Regions from separate parts of the Homo sapiens genome. Here regions 1, 2, 3, 4, 6 and 7 are each linked to region 5. The links are contacts of gene promoters, found by promoter capture Hi-C in blood cells and fetal thymus (Javierre and others, 2016). All regions are on one chromosome and are shown on one strand. The core of a region is centred on a gene start or on the middle of the fragment in contact, and the rest is flanking DNA. Distances in the headings are between cores, read along the strand shown.

What was found. Contacts are between HindIII fragments. The CHiCAGO score rates a contact against its expected background, and 5 or more counts as called.
Region 1: a contact is called between a fragment that was not itself captured here and the fragment with the promoter of MBIP in region 5, in 9 of 17 cell types (naive CD8 T cells, total CD4 T cells, total CD8 T cells and 6 more). The highest score is 26.1, in naive CD8 T cells.
Region 2: a contact is called between the fragment with the promoter of DTD2 here and the fragment with the promoter of MBIP in region 5, in 7 of 17 cell types (total CD8 T cells, activated CD4 T cells, fetal thymus and 4 more). The highest score is 12.9, in total CD8 T cells.
Region 3: a contact is called between a fragment that was not itself captured here and the fragment with the promoter of MBIP in region 5, in 2 of 17 cell types (total CD4 T cells and total CD8 T cells). The highest score is 9.9, in total CD4 T cells.
Region 4: a fragment that was not itself captured here is called in contact with the fragment with the promoter of MBIP in region 5 in 1 of 17 cell types (total CD4 T cells); the score reaches 5.9 in total CD4 T cells.
Region 6: a contact is called between a fragment that was not itself captured here and the fragment with the promoter of MBIP in region 5, in 1 of 17 cell types (total CD4 T cells). The highest score is 6.2, in total CD4 T cells.
Region 7: a fragment that was not itself captured here is called in contact with the fragment with the promoter of MBIP in region 5 in 1 of 17 cell types (total CD8 T cells); the score reaches 7.0 in total CD8 T cells.

Annotation. Positions count from the first base shown.
Region 1 is chr14:31,565,135-31,568,691 of GRCh38, forward strand. The region is part of intron 3 of NUBPL (NUBP iron-sulfur cluster assembly factor, mitochondrial); the gene reads left to right. Among named protein-coding and RNA genes, the nearest start is that of NUBPL, 5.5 kb to the left of the region's middle. The HindIII fragment of the contact is 430 bases long and covers 1,781-2,210 here.
Region 2 is chr14:31,456,038-31,459,207 of GRCh38, forward strand. DTD2 (D-aminoacyl-tRNA deacylase 2) reads right to left here and starts at 1,469. Exons shown (of 3, transcript NM_080664.3): 1 at 1,246-1,469. The coding sequence starts at 1,356. RefSeq lists enhancers at 488-1,073, 1,074-1,659, 1,104-1,313, 1,454-1,633. The HindIII fragment of the contact is 653 bases long and covers 906-1,558 here.
Region 3 is chr14:31,549,182-31,552,602 of GRCh38, forward strand. LOC105370438 (a long non-coding RNA gene) reads left to right here. Exons shown (of 4, transcript XR_943723.3): 3 at 1,590-1,746. Among named protein-coding and RNA genes, the nearest start is that of NUBPL-DT, 10 kb to the right of the region's middle. The HindIII fragment of the contact is 3,368 bases long and covers 1-2,973 here.
Region 4 is chr14:32,070,780-32,073,995 of GRCh38, forward strand. No RefSeq gene overlaps it. Among named protein-coding and RNA genes, the nearest start is that of ARHGAP5-AS1, 4.3 kb to the right of the region's middle. The HindIII fragment of the contact is 4,057 bases long and covers 1-3,216 here.
Region 5 is chr14:36,319,279-36,322,786 of GRCh38, forward strand. It overlaps MBIP (MAP3K12 binding inhibitory protein 1), which reads right to left and starts at 1,359. Exons shown (of 9, transcript NM_016586.3): 1 at 1,182-1,359. The coding sequence starts at 1,310. RefSeq lists enhancers at 1,048-1,307, 1,708-1,757. The HindIII fragment of the contact is 840 bases long and covers 885-1,724 here.
Region 6 is chr14:31,438,836-31,442,111 of GRCh38, forward strand. The region is part of intron 2 of HEATR5A-DT (HEATR5A divergent transcript); the gene reads left to right. Among named protein-coding and RNA genes, the nearest start is that of DTD2, 17 kb to the right of the region's middle. The HindIII fragment of the contact is 2,993 bases long and covers 150-3,142 here.
Region 7 is chr14:32,205,352-32,208,615 of GRCh38, forward strand. No RefSeq gene overlaps it. Among named protein-coding and RNA genes, the nearest start is that of RNU6-8, 3.7 kb to the left of the region's middle. RefSeq lists an enhancer at 949-1,108. The HindIII fragment of the contact is 224 bases long and covers 1,337-1,560 here.

The DNA of each region.
Region 1 (3,557 bases), core at 746-3,245, 4.8 Mb before region 5:
GTCAGAAGCTATAGTGTAGTTGTAGTGAGTTGCATATCTTTAAGGAACTCAATGCTGCCATCACTACTGGTTACATTTAATAATAATAATGTATTTAAGTGTTGACCATATATTGTTTGCTATATATCCCACAAGAGGCTTTGATGTTCTTTATATCCTAAACCAATTTTGCCTTTATGATTTACAGAAGCATTATTCTGGGTTCAGTTTTTAAGTGTTAGGGATTAAGTTTTTTTAAGGGGAAAGATATTCTGAAAGTAGTGTATATCCATTAAAACAAAATTCAAATGGAATACGTGTGTAATGCAAAACTGAAAGTTTATGCATTCCTTTCTGTTCCAGAGAATTAACTTAGGCTATAGTTCTATGTATATCCTTTCAGCTCTTCCTTTCTCCATATAAAAATCTAAAACAATGTACATGTATGTGTGTGTGCATACATCTTTCCATGATGTGCCTCATTCTTAATGGCTGGTGCATTAATGGTCAATGATAATATATTTAACCAGTTCCCATTTGATGAAATATTTAGGTTGGGTCCCATTTTTTCCCTACTCTAAACGATGCTATGGTGGAGTTCTTAAATAGTATTCTTATATACTAAGTGATGACATTTTTGTAGGATAGATTCCTAGGAGTAAAACTACTAGGTCAAAAGATATTCCTACTTTAAATTGTACTCCTAAAAGTTTGCTTGTAAAAAATTTCAGTTCCATTCTTTTCCTTGGGAGAAGAAAAAAAAATTCAGCTATAGTCTATGGGAGTATCAATTTTTCATAGTCTCATTATTGTTGGATGTTATCTTTTTAGATATTAAAAAAAATAACATTCAACTTATTTGCAACTCCATAAATTATCAGCTACTAAATGAAAAGGCACACACGTATTTCAGAATTGATTTTAATTTCTGCTTCATACCTATTTTATAGAATACAGGCAAGAATCATTTAATATGTTTAACTGTGGCTATACTTCTAACTTATTTTCTACCCGTACTATGTAACTTCAGTTCCTAATAAATAGCACATATGAAAAAATAATATGTGGTATCTCTGTAAGTATGTTATCAGTATATGGAGTCCAGAATCTGCCAGATCCTGGAACTAGACATAGATATTCATGTCTTCTGATGCTTGGCTGTATATTTCTGAAAATTGGAAACTAATAAACAAGATTTATAATATTTTGGTTATGTAAATTTTATTCACCATAGAAACAGGTAGCATAAAAGGACTTTTAGGGAAGAAAATGTAATTAAGTTTCTCTAAAGTTGCGCTTCTAGAAAGAGAAGATTCAAATATCAAGACAAAATTTTTTCTTAAAAAATTTTTTTTCAACTTGCTTCCTTTTATGGGGGACCTACTTTCATGTATCCCATCTTATCCTCTTTCTTGAATTCTTTTTTTTGTTTTTCTGAAGGACACCCTTGAGTCCTTATATGGTTTGGTAGGCAGAACAGTGGCCTGCCAAAAGTGTCCACATCCTAATTCCTGGAACCTGTAAATATGTTACTTTTCCTGCCAAAAGGAACTTTGCTGGTGTGACTAACACCAGCAAAATTAAAGATCTTGAGATGGGAAGATTATCCTGGATTATCTGGCTAGGTCCAATTGAAGATCCTTATAAATGAAAGATGGAGGTAGGTCCGAGTCAGAGTGACTTGATAAGAGAAGGATTCAATCCACCATTGCTGGCCTTGAAGACAGAAGGGGACCACTAGTCAAGGAATGTAGTCAGCTTCCAGAAGCTTGAAAAGGCAAAGAAATTGATTTTTCCCTAAAGCTTCCAGAAGGTACGTAATTCTGCCAACACCTTAATTTTAGCTCATTGAGATCTCTTTGGACTTCTGTGATAATATTTTATAGAAGTAGGAAACTAATACATATAGGAAGTAAATTTGCTTATTTCTTTAATTTCCAAAAGTGTCTTTAATTTATATTCGTTATTTGATAGCTTAACTAGATTCTAGTTAACTATAAAATTCCAGGTTCAAAATAATTTCCTCTCTGAACTTTGAAAACAACATACCGTTTTTTTCTAGCATGCTAATGAAATGTCTGATGATAGTCTGATTCATGTTCTTTTGTAATAACCAGTGTTTTCCCTCTCAAAGAGTTTAGGTTTTCTTTATGTCTTTTACATTTAAAAGTGCCACAAACATGCGTCTAGTTATTGGCTTAACCTGCGTGGGATTTGGCCCTGCAGTATCAAGCTTTGAGTATTTTTCAGCATAGGAAAAATTTCTTCTGCTCATTGATTATGTTTTGTGATGTGTTTGTTCTGTCTCCAGAAACCTGTTAGGTAGATACTGACCTTTATGCTTGTTAATTTTTCTGTCATATTTTGATCTCTTTGTCTTTTGCTCTGTGTTTTGAAAGATGTCTTTGACTATTTTTCACATTGCTGTATTGGACTTTAGTTGTTATTAGGTTCTTCTGATTTTGTTTTTCATTTGGAAATTATTTTTTTTTCCAATTTTTCCAGAACTATTTCTTATTTTCCACTTGCTGTTCCAAAAAAAAGGTTGTACCATTCTCTTGAATCTCTCCGAGGATGCTAATTGAAATTAATAAAAAGTGTTTTTCTTAGTGACCTCTGCTTACTTAGGATGGTTCTTGTAATGTGGCTGTTGACCAGCAGAATCAGCTTTACCTGGGAACTTGTTAGACATGTAAAATCTTGAGCCCCACCCTAGGCTTACTGAATCAGAAACCCTGGGGATAGAGATCTGCAATCTGTGTTTTAACCAACCCTCTAGGCGATTTTGATGCATGCCAAAGTTAAGAACCATGGATCTAGAATTTTCCACTTCTAACCTGCTAATGTCACCCTCTTTTGTTTTCTAGTGTGGTTATGGTTTTATTTAGTTTTAGACTATTTTGTTTCCTTGTCATTTCAATGGAATTTGGAAGAGAAGGGAGATAAACATATATGTTTAGGCAACCGTATTGAGATAAGAGCCAGTAATATGGTTTTTTTCCTAGTGATTTTAATGACAGCACTTAGTTACCCTAGAAAAAGGACCCTGTCTTCCTTAAGGAAGGAAACGGAAAATTCAATGGATGGGAAGGTAGATAAATTTGTAGGTGTGGACCTCTTTTAATTTGGTTATCATTGCAGCCAAAGCTTTGAGTCTTATAGATAATGTGAAGTAACTATGTAATAAGGGATCCAAGGATGAAAAAAACAGTTAACTCATTTCCTGTTTAGAAAAAAAAAGTGCAGCTCGCTGCCAGCACTTATTTAACTTTACATAAACACGCCCTTCGAGGCTGAACCAAATCTGACTGATTTTCAATGTGAAAATAAAATATAAAAACTCTTCTTGGAGTTATTTCTAAACAGAACTAACATTAGAATTCTCTGAATCATCAGAATTGTCTATTTCAGAAAAATTGGATTCATCAAATGAATCTTCGGCCAACAACTGTTTGAGGATGATATTACCATCACACTCAGGAATGCTACGTTTTCTAGGATTTGACATTTTCAGTGATTGAGAATTACTATATTTTGTAAATTGAAATGCTGCTACTAAAAATAGAATGCTATAAATA
Region 2 (3,170 bases), core at 219-2,718, 4.9 Mb before region 5:
AGGGCAACAGATTCTGATTTTAGAATAATCACCCACACATCATATAGTTCACGGGTACTATTTACAATAAGTAGGCGGGGTGCGGTGGCTCAGGCTTGTAATCCCAGCAGTTTGGGAGGCTGAGGCAGGTGGATCACCTGAGGTCAGGAGTTCCAGACAAGCCTGGCCAAAATGGCGAAACCCCGTCTCTGCTAAAAATACAAGTTAGCGTGGTAGCTTGCGCCTGTTGTCCCAGCTACTCGGGAGGCTGAGGAAGGAAAATTGCTTGAACCCGGGAGGCGGAGGTTGCAGTGAGCCGAGATCGTGCCACTGCACTCCAGCCTGGGCGACAGATCGAGAATTCATCTCAAAAAATAAAATAAAATATAAATAAATAAAATATAAAAAATAAAATAAATGTAAAATAATAACTAAAATTGTTTTAAGTAATGCTAGATCTGGGACCGAATTCAGCAGAAAAGGCGAGCGAATGAGATTTTGCTACACTGAAGTTTCTGAGTATCTACAAAAGTCTTAATTATGAACTAATTTTTTTCTTACATTTCAACGTACTCCAAAAATACGTCAGAGGCCTTAAAGAAAATTTTATTTGTTTTTGTATGCAGTGGGGGCAGGCGGTCTTAAAAAGTAAAGTATGTATGAAAGTAGAAGGAACTCATAGTGACATAAATGTTTTAAATTCTTTGGAGAAATGTGTTTGATAAGGCAACATTGTTATAAAAGTAGAGGTCTTTGTTTCTCAGTTGGAAATTGGTCAAAACTTTTAAAAGGCTTCTTGAAATAGAATTGTTTCTTAGGAAATCTCATTTCTATGCTAAGACCAAGTCAACATAGGGGGGAATTCGACGCGATCTGAGGCGTAAGTCAAAGCAGATCATGAACTCTTGCAGCAAACCTGACCTACAAGCTTGCCCCCGACCAGCATAGACCACGAGCTGCAAGGGGTCTGAGACAGTAAGGCCTGAAGTTCACCGAACTCAGTTTCAAATACCTGTGGTCCCCCCAAGAAGGGAGACACGCTCTTCCTCTCGGGTGCTACAACTGGCGCTGGGGAACGGTGATGCTGGACCGAAAAGACAAGCGCAGCCAGGCAGGCCACCGCGGCCAGCTTCAAGCTGACCCGGTATCCCCGCGGCCGGACCGCCGGTCTCAGAGGGAGACACAGAGCGGACGAGTCACCGAGACAACGCGGAAAAAACCGCCCCGCACGCCGGAGGATAACGAGAGCTGCCGGGCTGACGTTACCTCCACCCACTGGGCCGCGACGTCCCCATCGGCTGGGCGAATTTGCAGCCGGGCGTGCAGGCACTGCTGTAGGAGCGCCCGGGCCTGAGGAATCCGGCTACCCTCAGCCATGGCTTAAGCCAGCGCCGCGGCCGGACAGTTACTAGGCCATGTGTCGCTGGCCCCTCCCTCGACGCGCTGGCGGGGCAGACGAGGCGGGGCACGACGAAGGGCCTGCGCCGATTGCCCAGTGGCCCCGCCCTTAGGAGGGCGGGGCCTCGGACTGACTCTCGAATGTCCCGGATGTGCGGTCTTGGAGGCCGGCGTAGCGCTAAGCTTCTCGGCAGCACCTGCCCAACTCTGTAGAAGGCGCTCAGTGTATACTTTTATTAAACGATTGAAAAGACTCGTTAAATCTCTTTCCTACAAACCTTTTAAGAAACATTTTTCACCTCAGAAAGCTTAGGTTCCAACTGTTGAAAAATTTTAAATCTGCTTGATTTAAATTCATGTTATGCCCATATGAAAGTAAGTAAACAAATAATCGAATCATAAAGCAAGCGGAGATGGAACTAAAAGCTATATATACATCCTTCAAAATTTTCCTTATTCCAATCAATAAAAACAATGCTGCCTCCTCTATCGGGAATGCCATAAATTATTCTGATTCCACAGTTGTGAAAAGGTATTGGTATGCTATACGAATACACATTCTTTAGAAGATATCCTTGTTAAAAATGTTCTTATCCAAGAAAGTATGATTGTTAATAACTTAGCCCGCTACTAATACAAAAATAAAACAGCTTATTCTGATGCATATGACGTAAATTCTGTGATGCATTTTCTGGAAGTACATATTAGAATGTAAATAAAACTAAACAAGGGCTTGATTTTCTTTCCCATGTAACGTATTCCTTAAACATGCATCAGATTAGCATTTATTTGTCTATGGGCTTGGATGGTTTAGATGAGGAATAATAGTGTTACCCTGATTGCATTACCCAGGTCATTGATTTGGGCTCAGTTGACACAATGTGCCTATACATTCGGATCTGTTGTTTAAAAAGATGACATCACTGACAGTGTTGCTATCCATACAAAGTAGTGTGACTGAAGAAAATAGTCCATGCATAATCAACAGTCCTTTGTACACAAAATCGAAGCTGCTTGTTTGCTGGTTATCTTGCAGCCAGGTTTACACTTTTAGTAAAAACAGAAAGCAAAATCTCACATGATCTCTGATTGTTGCATTGCAGGGATTCCAACAGTTGTTGACATTTGTCTGCAAAGCACAGACAAGTTGAATTGCTTCATGTCTGCACCTTTATGTCATTATAACTACTGAGTCTCTTTTCTCTCCGGCTCTCAGATTCAGATTTTACAGGCCTGAAAGAAACTTTGACATACAAACCATTAGCTATGTCCCAGAATAAGAAAAGACTTTGGTGTCCATTTGTATGTGGCTGCAGGAAATAGGGAGGTCTATAGAGAATAGGTTATGTGGTTCGCAGAGATCTTTCTACAGAGAGGGTTTCTTTAACAAATTGGGAAACCCTTCCTGTGAGTAGAATAGATGGAGTATGGATGGTAATGGTTAGCTTCTCAAAAATCACTAATTACTTTAAACCCTCCTATTGAGTGAGGATCTCGTGGACATTGCTGTAGGTACTGTAATAGGCTGTGGCTCACTTATTTTTTACTTCTATTTGCAGAAGGCTATAGAGAGTGGCCACCAAAGACAGCATTTCCTTTCTGTATTTTATTTTTTGAACACTTAGTTTCATTCTGCAAATAATTTAAGAAGGAAGGACATGCATGCAATAAAATAGTAAAATGTGAATTAAAGCATTAGAAATAAAGAAACTAGAATTATGTCAGTAAGCCACAATGGGGGAAATTGAAAACAGGTAAGACAGTGGTTCTCAACTGGAGTGCTGAGATGATAT
Region 3 (3,421 bases), core at 40-2,539, 4.8 Mb before region 5:
TTGGTTACTATAGCTTTGTAGTATGATTTGAAGTCAGGTGGCTTTGTAATATAATTTGATGCCTCTAGCTTTGTTCTTTTTGCTTATGATTGCTTTGGCTATTCTGGTTCCTTTGTGGTTCCATATAAATTTTAGGATTGTTTTTTCTATTTCTGTGAAGAATGTTATTGGTATTTTGATAGGGTTTGCATTGAATCTGTAGATTGCTTTGGGTATTATGGACATTTTAACAATATTGATTTTTCCAATCCATGAACATGGAGTATCTTTTTCCTTTATTTTTTTCATTAGTGTTTTACAGTTTTCATTTTAGAGATCTGTATTAGTCCATTCTCACACTGCTATAAAGAAATATCTGAGACTGGGTAATTTATAAAGAAAAGAGGTTTAATTGGCTCATGGTTCTGCAGGCTATATAGGAAGTGTGGCTGGGGAGGCCTCAGGAAACTTACAATCATTGTGGAAAGTGGTCATTGTAGAATGTGAAGGGGAAGTAGACACATCTTCACATGGCCAAAGCAGGAGGAAGACTGAGATGGGGGAGTTGCCACACACTTTTAAAAAACCAGATTTCATAAGAACTCTATCAGTAGAACAGCACCAAAGGAGGAAATCTGCCTGCATGATCCAATCACCTCCCATCAGGCCCCACCTCCAACATTGGGTATTACAACTCAACGTGAGATTTGGGTGGATACACAAATCCAAACCATATCAACTTCTTCTCTTTCTCCTTCTCCTTCTTCCTCTCTTCCTCTCCTCCTTCTCCTCCTTCTCTTCCTCCTCCTGCTCCTCCTCTTCCTCCTCCTCCTTCTCCTTCTTCTCCCTCTTTTTTTTTTTTGACGGTCTCACTTCCATTGCCCAGGCTGGCATACAGGGGTGCAATCTTGGCTCACTGTAGCCTCAACTTCCTGGACTCAGATGATCTTCCCACCTCAACCTCCTGAGTAGCTGGGACTACAGGTGCACACCACCATGGCTGGCTAATTTTTTGTATTTCAGTAGAGGGGATTTTGCCATGTTGCCCAGGCTGGTCTCAAACTCCTGGGCTCAAGTGATCCACCTGCCTCACCCTCAAAAATTGTGAGCTGTTGTGCCCAGCTGAGATCTTTCACTTATTTGGTTAAGTTTATTCCTAGGTGTTCTATTTTATTTGTGGCTATTGCAAATTGGCTATTCATTTTCTTAGTGGGATCTTTTGATGTGCAGAAGTTTTAAATTTTGATCGTGCCTAACTTGTACATTTTTTAAAATGGCTTTTGTATTCTGTGACACATCTAAGAAACTTTTGATCACTCCTAAGTCAGGAGTAAATGCTCTCATTTTGCACTTTCTCAAGAAATTTTAGAATCATCTCATTAATTGCTGGGATTATGATTGGGGTTTTGTTGAATCTATAGATAGCGTGCAAGTAACATTGACTTTGATATTTTTAATTTGAGACTTTCAGGAATGGATATCTATGTTGGTCGATGTATTTTAATACTTTGGCGAAAGGAAAACAGGGTCTGATCAGCCTTCTGTGTTTTAGGCAAGAAGAGAGCCTATAATAGTCTACAAAATACTTCTATTTTGTGTTGTTTACTCAGAAGGACTTTGGACAACAATTTCTTTGACTGAAACTGGGGTCAGAGTTGCAGACTCCCTGGAACATGAAAAGTCAATAATCTAGTTCCCAAAAGGCAGACAAGAAACTATTCCCAAGATGAACAAATGATGAGAATAGAGGTAAAGGTGAAAATGATGGTAAGTGTGAAAAATCCATTTATAACACTTCAATTTGTGTTCTTTAAGGAAGAAAATATACCTTGTGCTTTTTCTGGTCTGCAGCATCTCTAAACTATTTGCCTTTATTTTCTCAAAAGTATTTTAGGAACAGTGAAGTTACACAACTTTGTTCTCTTCAGTTCTTATTTTAATTCAATATGAGCTTGGAAGAAGAATCTACAGATTATTTCATTTAATCCCTTCATGGTGTATGAAGTAAACAGATTTAGAGTTAAATGATTTGTCTGAGGCCATGCGGCTAGTTAGTAGCAGAGTTCTGACAACATCCCAGGCTTTTCTATCTCTCTACTCCACTGATATTTCCAGTATGCATTGCTTTTATAATAGCTAACCACTCACTAACTCCTGATCCCCTACAATGTGCCTGGCGCTGTGCTACATATAGGTGATATAAATTATCATTATAATATACTTTTGTTCCTCAAATACCACATAGCTCTATGTAATAGAAGACATATGAAAATAGTAAAAGGGGCCAGGTACGGTGGCTCACGCCTATAATCCCAGCACTTTGGGAGGCCAAGGCGGGCAGATCACCTGAGGTCAGGAGTTTGAGAACAGCCTGGACAACATGGTGAAACCCCGTCTCTACTAAAAATACAAAAATTAGCTAGGTGTGGTGGCAAGTGCCTGTAATCCCAGCTACTCAGGAGGCTGAGGCAGGACAATCGCTTGAGCCGGGGAGGCAGAGGTTGCAGTGAGCCGATATCATGCCACTGCACTCCAGCAGGGGTGACAGAGCAAGACTCTGACCCCAAAAAAAAAAAAAAAAAAAAAAAAAGAAAAAAGAAAAGATTGTATGAGAGAGACCTGACATAGGCTAGCATTGCTAACTTCAATTTATAAAATGAAAGCAATCAAACTGCACCTTAAATTCATGTTCTATTAAATAAAATGTTAACTGTTAAGGAAGGTGAAGTTTAATGCTTGATGAAATTATCAGAGAAGTCTATAGAAAAAGAAAAATTTGAGACAGAATTTCAAGGAATGATGGAATTAGGAAGGGTAGAGGGATTATAAACTATTATAATCGGGACACAACAAATATGTTAATAAAAACTTGAATACCTTATAAATTAAAATGCAATTTCAATGCAGTTCAAGACAAGGACATTACATATGTTTATGGGCTTCTGAAATAAATTACTTTTAACTAAAACTAATGAAACACAGATTTATATGAGAAGCTTAGAGGTAAATTAAGTCGTGAAGTAGGCATTCAGATTTCTTTCTGCAGAAGTAGTGATATTTCCCCCAGGCGCTTCTCTTATGGTAGCTGGTCCTAAGGGAATACTCTTTTGTCAGTAGCATGCAGTAGTCCTGTATAGGTAATAAGAGACCTCCATCTCCATATTGCTTTCAGCAATTTGCCCTAAAACAAATAATCTAAACTCTTTGATTCCTCATTTCCATATGCAGTAATAGGACTAATAATAACTGCCCTGTCAATCTCATGGCAGTTGTGAAAATGAATATATACAATTTTTATTTATCAATTATATTACACCTCAATAAAACTGGAGAAAATGAGAAATGTACAGATTATGGTTCAATGAAGATTCTATGAAGATATTTTTAGGGACAAAATCTGCAGTGTTGTCTGCAGCATTGACTTGGTTGTCTCCAAAGATTA
Region 4 (3,216 bases), core at 201-2,700, 4.2 Mb before region 5:
AACATTAGCTATAATCTCACCATCTAGTTAAAATCTCTAATAACATGTTGGTCAATAATATTGTCATCTTATTTTCAGACATTTTCTTTTTATAAGAATCATACAGCTTTTAAGGCCGGGCACGGTGGCTCACGCCTGTAATCCCAGCACATTGGGAGGCCGAGGCAGGCGGATCACGAGGCCAGGAGATCAAGACCATCCTGGCTAAAATGGTGAAACCCTGTCTCTACTAAAAATACAAAATTAGCCGGGTGTGGTGGCGGGCGCCTGTAGTCCCAGCTACTTGGGAGGCTAAGGCAGGAGAATGGCGTGAACCCATTGGGAGGCGGAGCTTGCAGTGAGCTGAGATCAAGATTGAGTCACTGCACTCCAGCCTGGGCAACAGAGTGAGACTCCATCTCAAACAGCAACAACAACAACAGCAACATACAGCTTTTATTGCTTTGTACCATTTTTTCCCACATAAAGTATTATGACTATTTTTCTACCTCAATAAATACATGCTTCTAAAATATCATTTTAAATAATTGCTTCCTTTTAAATTTAATTCTATAAGAATTTAATTTATAGGATACATATAGCTCTTTATATGCTTTTGCTACATCAGTTTTACATTATTGTCATGTTTGTAAAATCTCAGAATAACTAATATAAATATTTTGTGGCATAGCATAAAAAAGTTATTTAATGTCTATTCCTATAAGAATTAGAACCAGAAACAAATGATGTATGTGATATAGGCCTGTCCTGGGCTGTGCCGAAGAGGAGTAAGAAGCCTAGTTGGAGAAAGAAGGTGAGTATTCTTATTCCTCACTGTATAACAGATGTATATGAAAGAAGCTATGTGTTCATCAAAAGAATCACATTGTAATTTGAGACATACAGAAGTACAGATGCACCTCAACTTATGATGGGGTTACTTCCCAATAAACACATCATAAATTGTAAATACTGTAAAGTCAAAAATGCATTTAATACACCTAACCTACCAAACATCATAGCTTAGCCTAGCCTAACTTAAACATGCTCAGAACACTTACATTAGCCTACAGTCAGGCAAAATCATCTAACACAAAGCCTAGTTTATAATAAAATGTTGAATATTTCATGTAATGTATGGAATACTGTTCTGAAAGTGAAAAAAAAATGGTCGTATGGGTGCTTAAAGTACAGTTTGTACCGAATGCTGTCACTATTGCTTTCGTACCATCGTAAAGACAAAAAACCTTAAGTTGGACCATCGTAAGTCAGGGGCCTTCTGTATTTAGAAGTATGTATATATTTATTGAACTAGAAAAATAGTTGTATTTTTGCCTTTTTGAAGAAAATGCAACATGTGAATTGGCAAAATAAGTATTTACCATCTATTTTAGTTTAAAATAATAGGGAAAACCGACAGAGACTTAATTGAGAAGTGATTAGCCACTTTATCGTTGGTTTCAGAAACTATACTGCACCAGTTCTTTAGAATGTTTCCAGATGTTTCAGACCTATAGTTATTTGTTGTTAGTAACTCACATTTACCTACTAGAGAGATGTTATGTGGAAATATGTCGATTGTACTTGAGGAAGGACATCTAACTCAACTTTCACAGGTGAATTCAGCGATTTCTTTAAATGATTTGTATTTTCCAAAGTGATTATCTCAGCTGGCACTTCGAAATATAATCTAAAGCCTTCTGTTAGCCACAAATCCACAGAAATCCATAAAACCTAGAGTGTTTCATGTTATTATTATCAAACATTTATTGAACTTTCTACTAATGATCTTCTAGTTATTATATAGAGCCAAACATTCATTTTGTTATTCCTATGTAGAGAGACTCACAATCTAAATTTGGTCTAAATAGAGTGGGAAATTCACAAAAATTATGTTCATGAGGTTAAATAGTCAAGCAATACAAGTTCCTGTTTCCCATTGTAATGATTTACAAATGACAGTGGTAACAATCTCAAACAGAGAATTCAAATCCTTCAGTTAGCAATTCTTGCAATTATTTTTTAGCTTTATGGGGTTAACTTTATTGGGGTTGATTAAATTCAAGCTGTGATCTTTCATAAAAACTCAATAGAGAGTCCAGATGGCCCAACAATACCTCCTTTTGTGAGAGGAAATAACTTGAAGATTTTGTCTAATTAAAGTATTTGTGCTGGTGGGATCTGAATGAATTGTTTTTCCTTTAAAAGGAGTCTGCATTACAAATAATCTTTACAAAATACGAATTATTTAAAAATAGTGTGCTGCTTTCAGTATTTCAGTTATGTCCTAGGACTAGAGTTTCATGAGCATGACATTTTAAAGCTAGACTCTGATACCATCTTTGGGATTTCAGTCTGAAAATACAGTTCTGGAATATCAACAGAACAAGGCTGTGTGGAACAAAATGCCAAGAAGGTCAATGCACTACTTTCCTCCTGTTCCAGTCCCATGCTCACAATTACCTTAACTCTTGTCAAAATATTTTCTACAGTAACAGCCAAGACATAATTAGCACCTTTTCTTCATGTTGAAAATATCATTGGTACCCATAAAACAAATTTGGGGAAAGCCCTTAAGCACCTTAATGCAGCAAATGGCTACTGTGGATTGATACACCATTATTTGCCTAGCTGAAGGATTAATATCCCATCTTATCCTGCCTTCTTCCTCCCCTCAAGTAGGCCTAATTGTATGAGATAGAGAGAAAAAGAGAAGTCTAGGCAGGAGATGGGGATAAGGTAAAGAGTGGAAATACAGTTGGAAATTAAGCAAATATCTTACAAGTGTTTTGGCTATTTAGCTATTTACATCATTATTCTCCATCCTCTTTGTGTATTTTGTCTGTAATCAAGGTGATATTCTGACATAGGTTGTTCTCCAAAAGCCTGTCTTGTATCAGACAGGCTAAAGTATTGGTCAATTCTGTCATGAGTGGTAAGGCCCTTTATTTGGCTTTTCATATGTTCCTGATTGAGACTACAGAAGCCAAAGTTGTTATGATCAAAGATTTCCAGCAGGGGGTGTAGCTGCCTCTATAGGGTAAGTTCTTTTGAAGCCACAACATATGAAACATTTGAATATTGCAGTATTACCACTAATGGTAGAAGCTGGAATTATGATAACTTTTTTTATGACTGTCATGTCTTTTGATCTCAAAAAGACCATGCATATTAATACTTTATTAGGATGTGATGAAGAACTAGAGATTTATGAAGAAAATTTAAATTAAAAACCGA
Region 5 (3,508 bases), core at 109-2,608:
ACCATTTAAACGTCTTGGGTCTTAAGAATGGAATGTTAATAACAAAACACCCCAAGTCTTTAAAAAATGTTTTTGGTAAGTACTTGGCAAACAACTGAATTTAAAAGTTATATCTTTAAGCAGACTCCATTAATAACTGCGTCATTTCATAAAACCGTTTAACTTACAGTAATGTTCTTTGTAAGACACAACATACTACGATTTTTAAAAATAGTAACTTCTTAAAAGACTGATTCTCCATCTACTCAAGGCTTTAAAAATAATTTTCACAAATCAGACAAATGTTCTATTTTCATAGGAATTTACCATTATCTTTGACACAAATGCCTGCTTTGTCCACTTGCGCTAGTACCAGCCCCAAAACAAACTTTTACGGCTAGAAAATGGTCTATGTAAGATAGAAAATATTTCCTTTTAAAAGGCAGGTAAACAAGCATACTTTTAAATTGTTTCTCATTTAAAACTTGAATTTTACACCATGAAACGAAACAGTGACTTGATCGAAGAAGCCCATTTCAATTTAAAACCAATTTTACTATGACATTTCTGCAAAAGCGATTTATCAGCCAGTTAAACTAGTTAATAGTTAAATAACGACAGTTCTAACGCCAACAGCATTTTACGCTAGAAGTATTTTAAATGAATTCCTTTTACTTTTCTCCCCATTTGAAAGGATTATAGATGCGCAAAACAGCCCGAAGGAAAAAAGAAATAAACAAAACCAAGTAACTCATAAGAACAAATTACTCCCTCCCCCACCAAAAAAAGCTAATAAGCGCGCGCTTTTCTATAAATCTCAGGCCTACTGACCAACCAATTCCCATAAAGAGTAAGTTGGAGGAAAAAGGACCCTGAACGCTAAGCGCCTCCTAAACTCGCAGTGAAGCTTTTCCACATTCATTCTCTCCAAGCCTGCCTCTCTCGGAGCCGGGTTTTCACTTAGGCCAACCTCACCCACTCTTGGGGAGGACAGCTGCAAGGTAAACGACTCTGCAACCGGTACCGCCGTCCTCCTCACTCCGACCGAGGAGGCTGGGCCCGGGCTCCTTCCACACCTCGGCTTCGGGACCGCATCCCACACCTCTGCAGGCCTAGCTGCCCCCGGCCTCTGCTAGAGAAAAAGAATGGCGAGGAGGGACCGGATGGTTTCCATATTCCCAGTCCCTCAGGCCACCTCTCACCTGTCCAACCAGGGTGTGTAGGGAGCGAAAGATTTCGTAGAGCACCTCTCGGGAGAGGTTGGGTCTGCATCTTCGCTCCAGGTTCCTGTCACCGCTGCTCGGGCGATTAAGCTCCGTGGCAGCAGCCATGATATCTTCTCAGGCCGCCCCACCACCACCACCACCAAGATTTGCTCACAACCCCGCCCCCTCCCTTCCAGCTTTAGTCGCTTGGCGATGACGTAAGACACGGAGTCTGGTTTAGATCGGGCTTTGAGGCCCCACCCTCTCTATGTGAATGACAAGCACGTTACACCAATCAGTTGCAGCTGTGACATTGCGCCGAGGCTCTGAAGTGGGTAATTGCAGACCACAGCTAGGCTGGAATGCTGTGTTTGGGGTGGTCATTAGAGTCGTGGTCTCTTTAGCGTTATGAAGCCTACCTTGACTCCTAGGTGTTCATTGTGAATCTTGGTAAGAGGAGACATAGTTAAATTTTGTAGTTTGAGTCCAAAAAGTAAAAGTTGACATTTTAACATGGCGGTGTGGAGTGGGTCTGGAGGAAGCTTGCTGGTCAGGGATGGAGTGGTGCCCACACGTGTTTCTAAACATTGGAAAACTCACACGGAATTATCATGATTGGATAGAACATTTTCATCTCTTCAAGTTTGTTGTTGTTGTTTTGGAGACAGAGTCTCACTCTGTCGCCCAGACTGGAGTGCAGTGGCACTACCTCGGCTCACTGCAACCTCCGCCTCCCAGGTTCAAGCGGTTCTCCTGCCTCAGCCTCCTGAGTAACTGGGACTACAGTTGATATTCTCTGTTTTAACTGTAGAGACGCTTAACCCTAAAATTGTTTCAAAGAAATGAAACACTGTCAATATAATTCCAACAGGAATTTAACCTGGATAAATAATATCATGCAACCACAATCTTTGAAATTAGGACATAAAACCGAATTCAAATTTTACAAAGTATTATTTATCATAATAGCTTTATTATAACGATGTTTGTGGGGTTTTGTAATCTTTTAGTCAGACTCCGATATTTTTAAAAAGTGTTATCCAATTAAAGTATTACAATAATTTTTAGTGTTAAGCTTTATTCAAAAACACTTTAAGAAATCAACATCAGCTTAGAGATAAGGAAGGTGGGATTTAAAACTCGTAATTCTGTTAATAGTCTAATGCATTTACAGTAGAGAAAGCAAAGGTGGAAACTTGCACAATGTGTATTCTTTAGTTTTAGGGTAGACTAAATTAAAGGGAAGGACTAATGCATCAAGGAACTAAGATAAGGACGATGGGGATAAAAACTCCTTTGACCTGTCCCTAGGGAGTCTCTTAATTAGGCTTTCATTTCCAAAGACAAATGGGATCACCAGGCTTGACAGAATCTTGGGAAATCTTTTCTGTTCCCTTGTTGGCAGCAAGATATACAACTGACATTCCAGCCTATTTCTACAGGCAGAAAAATACTTCACAATGTCCAGTCTCAAATTGAGCAACCTTCTTATTCAAGCATGGTAATGGGGTAACTGTAAGTTTTTGTTTTGTACCAAATTAGCAATCAGTTTCAGATCATTTGTTTTCATTGAGGTGTTTCATATTTTTTCAAATATGGAGAACACTGATATGCAACACATTTGGGAATATGCTTTGTATATTTAAAAAATGTTGTCTTTAACAAGGTGCTGCTATTCCTTTCTTTGCCATCATTGATTTTGAATTTTCAAGTTTTACTTGTTCTTTTGAGCCTCTAATACAGAATTAACTGATGGCCATTTGATCTGTGTATTGCTTCTCCATGTAATTCTGTGATTTGATATCCAGACCTGCACTTGTATCTTAGTATTCTTTACTTAGGTACAGGTTGAGCATTCCTAATCTGAAAATTCAAAATCCAAAATGATCCAAAATTTGAAACTTTTTGAGTGCCAGTACCACAAGTGGAAAATTTCACACCTGATCCGACATAACAGGTCACAGTTAAAATGTAGTCAAAACTTTGTTTCATGCACAGAATTATTTAAAACATTATATAAAATTACCTTCAAGTTATGTGTATAAAGTATACATGAAACATAAATGAATTTTGTGTTTAGATTTGGGTCCCATCCCCAAGATAGCTTATTATATATATGCAAATATTCCAAAATCTAAAAAAAATCCGAAATCTGAGACACTTCTGGTCCCAAGTAGTTCAGATAAGGGATACTCAACCAGTAGTACTTAAAATTTGTTAACTCTTTTGTGCATTCTTTCTTCTTTCTAAGGACCTTTCTTACTCTTCTTGATGCCTATTACCTTCATTTTGGAAATTTTTCTCATTTTCTTATTTTATAATAG
Region 6 (3,276 bases), core at 396-2,895, 4.9 Mb before region 5:
CTCTTGTTTTTGTATCTACTTGTATACTTGGTATACAAGTAGACTCTAAATAAATTCTTGTTGAAGAAACTATGCCTTTTTAATTCTGAGTGTGAGGGAGCTAAAGTCCAAATTTTTTTCCATTGATTATTGTGTAAATCACTGTTGTAAGCTTCTTAATGATGGTCACTGCGCAGTATACTTACCTGTTTGGTTATAATGCCTACCAGTGCTTTACACATACAAGGTAGCAAGTATCTCACTCATTAAATCTAGTAATAATTGCAAATATTTATCAAACTGAGTAGCAGTGGTTCAGTATTGAAATGCTTGCAAAATTTCTCTTTCCTGTTTCTAAATTAAAACATAAGGGGAAAATATGGGAATTAATATGGTATCATGATAATCCTATACATATTTTAGGATAAACACAAATCTGTGGGCCATATAGTGATGAACACTTTCTGGTCATAAGACCTCAGTAAAATAGAACATGCCGATAAAATTTTCAGAAAAGTCTAGGAAATAGCAAATTTATATCACCACTGGGGGGAAAGGGATTTTTTAAAAAAAAACCTTGTTGAAGCATATGGGCACTCACTATTATTTATGAGATGATAGCAAGTGTACTGAGTAACATTTTAAACAATATTCTGAAAACATCTTGAAACAAAAATTCAGCGCAGATTTATAAAGCAAAAAAAAGCAATCTAACACCAACGTGATTGAGGACACAAAATTTAATCATTGCTTAAAGATTATCAGATATTTCTCTTTCACTATTGAACGGAGATTTAATACTTGCAGTAACTTCTGCCAACTCAGAACCCTGAGAAAATAAGTCACTTTCTTTACAGAAATAAGAAGAAAAAAAAGGATATTACCAACAATGGAAGAGGAATGCAGAGTGGCAACAGCTCCAAGTGGACCTGGCAGACTATGAACACTAGAATCACCAAGGAAACATGGAGCTATGAAATGGCAAAAGGCTGTGTGAAAACCCTGACGCTTTTTGGTTCAGCCTTTAAAAACCAAATGAAAACTCAAGAGATACAAGAATGTGGTTATTTTGATGAACAACTCACAAACTAGTTGAATTAAAAGAAACTGGTTCAAATGAACACAAACCTAAACATTTTTTCAGTTCGTCTAATTAAAGTCTAACCAATTCCTTCTAATTTAAAAGATCCAGTTTTGGATATATCCAAGACTAAAACACAATCTTATCAAAGTCTATTTAATATGGTGTAAATCTCACGGGAACTGTGACTATCTTCTCTCCCAGTCTAAACCTTGTGGCTTTTCTGATTGCTTTTTATAATGATTGATGTTCATATCTCTCGCTTATTTTATAAGAAATAAAGAAAACAAAGATCATAAACTCACACACAGAAAAATAAAAGACACAGTTTTTTGTTTGTTTTGTTGAGACAAGGTCTCACTGTATTGCCCAGGCTGGTCTTGAACTCCTGGGCTCAAGTGATCCTCCTGCCTTGGCCTCCCAAAGTGCTGGGATTACCACACCTGGCCAGCAATACATTTTTAAATGAAGATTCACTACCCTAGCCAAAAGTGTCTTCTCCTTCTGCAGCTATTTTATTAATAAAACTCACTGATAGCATTGTCCAGACATCAGAGACCACATACTACCTAGTGCATTTTTGTGGCTAATGTGTCCCCTACTAGATGGTAAATTCCTTGGGGCTAGTGATCATATCTTAAACATTTCACACAGCCCCTAGCTACACTGCTGACCTGCAGATTATAAAGACCACAACATTTAAGTGGAAAGCAAGTATCCATTATGCAGTATTAAGCAAATGTTAGATTTTCAACATATGGGTTTTAAAAGGCAAATATGTATATAATGAAAAGAAGTAAAAGCCCTGTGGCTGGGTGGGGTGGCTCACGCTTGTAATCCCAAAACTTTCGAGGCTGAGGTGGGTGGATCACTTGAGGTCCGGAGTTCGAGACCAGCCTGGTCAACATGGTGAAACCCCATGTCTCAGGATGGGGAACATCACACACCGGGGCCTGTCGTGGGGTGTGGGGAGGGGAAGGGATAGCATTAGAAGATATACCTAATGTAAATGACAAGTTAACGGGTGCAGCACACCAACATGGCACATGTATACATATGTAACAAACCTGCACGTTGTGCACATGTACCCTAGAACTTAAAGTATAGCAATAAAAAAAAAAAAAAAAGAAACCCCGTGTCTACAAAAAAATACAAAATTAGGCCAGGCGCAGTGGCTCATACCTGTAATCCCAGCACTTTGGGAGGCCAAGGTGGGCAGATCACGAGGTCAGGAGTTTGAGACCAGCCTGTCCAAAATGGTGAAACCCCATCTCTACTAAAAAAATAAAAAATTAGCCAGGCGTGGTGGCCAGTGCCTGCAATCCCAGCTACTCAGGAGGCTAAGGCAGGAGAATCACTTGAACGTGGGAGGCGGAGGTTGCAGTGAGCCAAGATCACACCATTGCACTCCAGCCTAGGCAACAGAGCAAGACTCTGTCTCAAAAAAACAAAAAGCAAAAAAAACCAAATTAGCCAGGCATGGTGGTAGTCACCTGTAATCCCAGCTACTTGGGAGGCTTAGGCAGGAGAATCGCTTGAAGCCCAGAGGCAGAGGTTGCAGTAAGCCAAGATCGCGCCAAGATCGCACCAAGATCACTCCAGCCTGGGCGACAGTGAAATGTGTCTCAAAAGAAAAAAAAAAAAAAGAAATAAAAGCCCCGAGGACTTTCAGAATGTAATCAGAAGAAAAAATAATGCAGGCATTGAGCAAACTAAACTTAAAAGATGGTCATGTTTGCTCATAGACATACCTTGGGGCTGCTAAGGAAATCAGAAGAATGCCAGGAATAGAAAGTGTGCCTTAGCCTATCTACATTAGTACAAGGTTGAAGTAAACAGTCTCTCAAAGTTGGAGCCAAGGGTTACATTTTCGCTAGTATGATCAGACATTTTCTAAAAAAACTCCATACCTTCCCTTAAAACAAAAAAAAAGCCCACAATTACTTTCCCAACCTCAAATGTTTATGGCAATAATAGCTAATGGTTCTCAGATACTGTTATACAGGGTGTGGTGCATTCTCCACATAAATTCTTCTTTTCACATTCAGATAAAAGGCTGATGTAATAGGTCAAATTTTATTAAGCTTCTTAAGAGAAAAATGCTGACTAACCCAGTGTGAAGAATTCATTCACATGGAAAAGTCCAGTAAAAAGAAGTAGGGTCATATTTATCTTAAAGTTGGCTATTTGTGATGTATCCCACATAACTGCTTTAT
Region 7 (3,264 bases), core at 199-2,698, 4.1 Mb before region 5:
GCTTCCCAATTAGCTGGGACTACAGGCGTGCGCCACCACGCCCCGGCTATGTATTTTTAGTAGAGACGGGGTTTCGCCGTGTTGGCCAGGCTGGTCTCAAACTCCTGACCTCAGGTGATCCACCTGCCTCAGCTTCCCAAAGTGCTGGGATTACAGGCGTGAGCCACCGCACTCCCCCCACCACCCTCACGATGAGTCTTACTTAATAGGAATTATTAACAAATTGGCTTTAAGAAATTTATTTAAAGGATTTTTTCAGTGAGACAAATGTTTTATTTTTATATTCTGGAACATTTGAACTCATCAATAAACATAATAATTTTAACGATTTACATTAACTGAAATAAAACAACTGCCTTTCCTTTGTGACATGTAAAACTATGGTGCATTTCGCAATCAATGACATTTTAGATCCAAAGAGATGTATCTTATTTTTTGGAAGAGGAAACTGAGGCTGATATAAGTGTAGTGACCTCCCTGGGCAAGATTGGCCACTGGTCCTACCATCTTCTGATGCCGAATTCATTGCTGTTTTCACTGCACCATTTGTAGTATTACTAGGTCATACTATTTGCAGTAAACTGCAAAGAAAAAGATAAAGACCTCAAGCCTGCCATTTTACAATTATATTTCTGAGTTCTGCTCATTTGACTGCAGAACAAGACAGCACACACTAAGTGGAAAGCTGACCTTGTTCTTTTTACTCACAGAAAGGGCACATTTGGTGATGTGACACAATTGAAAGTCAAAAACCACAGGTCATTTCCTCTTCAGGAATTTTGCTCTAATTAAAAAGAAGAAGAAACTCATCCTAAATCCTCACATCCTCTTTAGCAAGGAACAGATGAGTCATTTAGAACCACAGCATCAATGACCGGCGTCACCTGGTGTGAAATTGGTGAACTCCAGGTGGGAAACAAAGGTTATCAACCTGGGCTGCAGGTCGCAATCACAAGAGCTTTTAAAAATACGAGTGACTGAGTCCTCCCCTGGAGATTCTGACTTTGTTATTGTTGTTTTTAGACAGGGTCTTCACTATGTTGCTTAGGCTGATCTGGAACTCCTGGGTTCAAATGATCCTTCTGCCTCAGCCTCTCAAGTAGCTGGGTTTACAGGTGCACACCACTGTGCCTGGAAAGAGATTCTGATTTAATTGTCCTGAGTACGGCCGGGGTGTCTGTGAGATATCTTTCTGCATTCTCCCTCTGCCTCTCTCTTTCTCTCCACGCCTCCTGTGAGCTCTCAGCCTTTATAAGATCTTCTTTGGGCTTGTCAGCACCCTTCTTTCTTTCCTCTCTTCTCCTTTCTTTTCCATCAGACACACTACATCAGGTGAAGCTTGTTTCGAGTTCCCCACCAGGCCCCTTTCTTTGCTACTGGCTTCCTTTTATGGCCATACTTCCTTCCCTCATAATGCACCCACTGGCTCCCCAAGACTCCTCCTAAATGTCCCACTTACAATTGTAAGGATATTTAAAGACTCATCAGTCTGGGTTTTATTTCTTCAGGGCTCTGCTAACTAACTCCACAAACTAAAATATACTAGAACAGTATTTCTCAAGCTTTCTTAGTGATAGATTCCCAGACCCAACTTCTTACAGTTTCCAGAGGATTGACTTATGCCACTGTATTCAGAGAATCACTGGCATATCACCCATATGACCTATCTGTGTTTTAATGGCTACTTTTAATGAAATGAGAAAGTCACTCTGGTAAAGCTGATGTGAGATATTTTGGTGCTTGGAGCCCTTTCATGGCAACCAGTTCCCTAATGTGTAGAAGATGTGTAAACCTCATGTTCTGTTTTATGGTAGGGAAAAAACCATGTCAGAGAGGAACTTCTTAATTTCTTGTAATTACTACAAATTTAACTCTATATACACTCATCCACTTTTCTGAAATGTTATTTCAGAAAAATGTTATTTACAAATAGATGTTATTTGTATGGAAAAAACATTTGTGCCCAGGTAGAAAACTGGATTGTCTGGAAAATACAAAATCTGATTCACATTCTATGGAAGCTATTTTACAACTCTGTAGATTGTAGATAACTGATGGCAGTTAATAATTTCTGTTTATAGCTGTGCAAATTCTCTCCTGACTGGAAGTTCAATTGACTTCTCTTCACCACTATGGAAGAACCCAGTTTTGCTTCCATTTGCACATTCAACCTTCCTTTATTCCACATAATTTTTTTATTTCTCTTTTGAACTAGTTGTAACGTCTCCTGCGTTTCCGCATTGATTCGTGATAAAATCTTTAACGTGTGTTCATTTTTTATGTGTATGAGAGGCATGATTTTATCCACTTTTTTAAAAAAATTGTCTTTTTAAAAGTTTGGAGGTCTTCCAATGAGTTGTCTATTGGATTCATCTTAACAAAACCAGATATACGTTTCACCAGACTAGCTTGTGGGCTGCTTAAAGCCCAAACACATTTTTTTCTTGGCTGCCAAATGACAATAGAACTTTGGTGACTCTGTTTTTCTAATTTTAATATTTTTCTCTATTAAGTTTGTGATTTGTCTCTGTTTTGCTTCCAGCCAGCCAGTGTGTCTGCTGTACTGGGTGGAAACAATGATTGGGAATTTGGTGTCATGGTCTAATCATTTGGTAAGCTCTGTGAATGGATTAATATTTATAGAGATCTAGTCTCTGTTGGGTGACAGACTATAGAGAAACTAGTTTATTAGTCTTGTTTATACACCTTTTGTCCATTTTGGGCTCAAATCAATTAAGAATATTGTGCCCATCAAGAAGGGGAACAGCTCTTTGATATCTGAATTAGTAATTTTTTTTGTGCTTCCGTGTTTATTCTTGACCCGTGAGTGAAATTTTAGAATTAAAGCTATAAACTCTATGTCTGCATGTTTGTAATTCAGAAAGGTCTTTATCTCTCATTATATGAATGTGTAATGCTTTCCTAAATCCAGAGGGTGTTAACAACTTAGATTATGAAATCTCCTACATTAAAGGAGTCCGGTTCTGATTGATTTAAGACAAAGGTCCCCAGCCCCCAGGCAATGGACTGGTACCTGTCTGTGACCTGTTCGGAACCCGGCCGCACAGCAGGAGGTGAGCAGAGGGCATGCGAGCATTGCCTCCTGGTAGATCAGCAGCAGCATTAGATTCTCATAGGTGTACAAACCCTATTGTGAACTGTGATTGTGAGGGATCTAGGTTGCACCTTCCTTATGGGAATCTAATGCCTGATGATCTGAGGTGGAACAGTTTCATCCCCAAACCGTCTATCCCGCCAACCCCA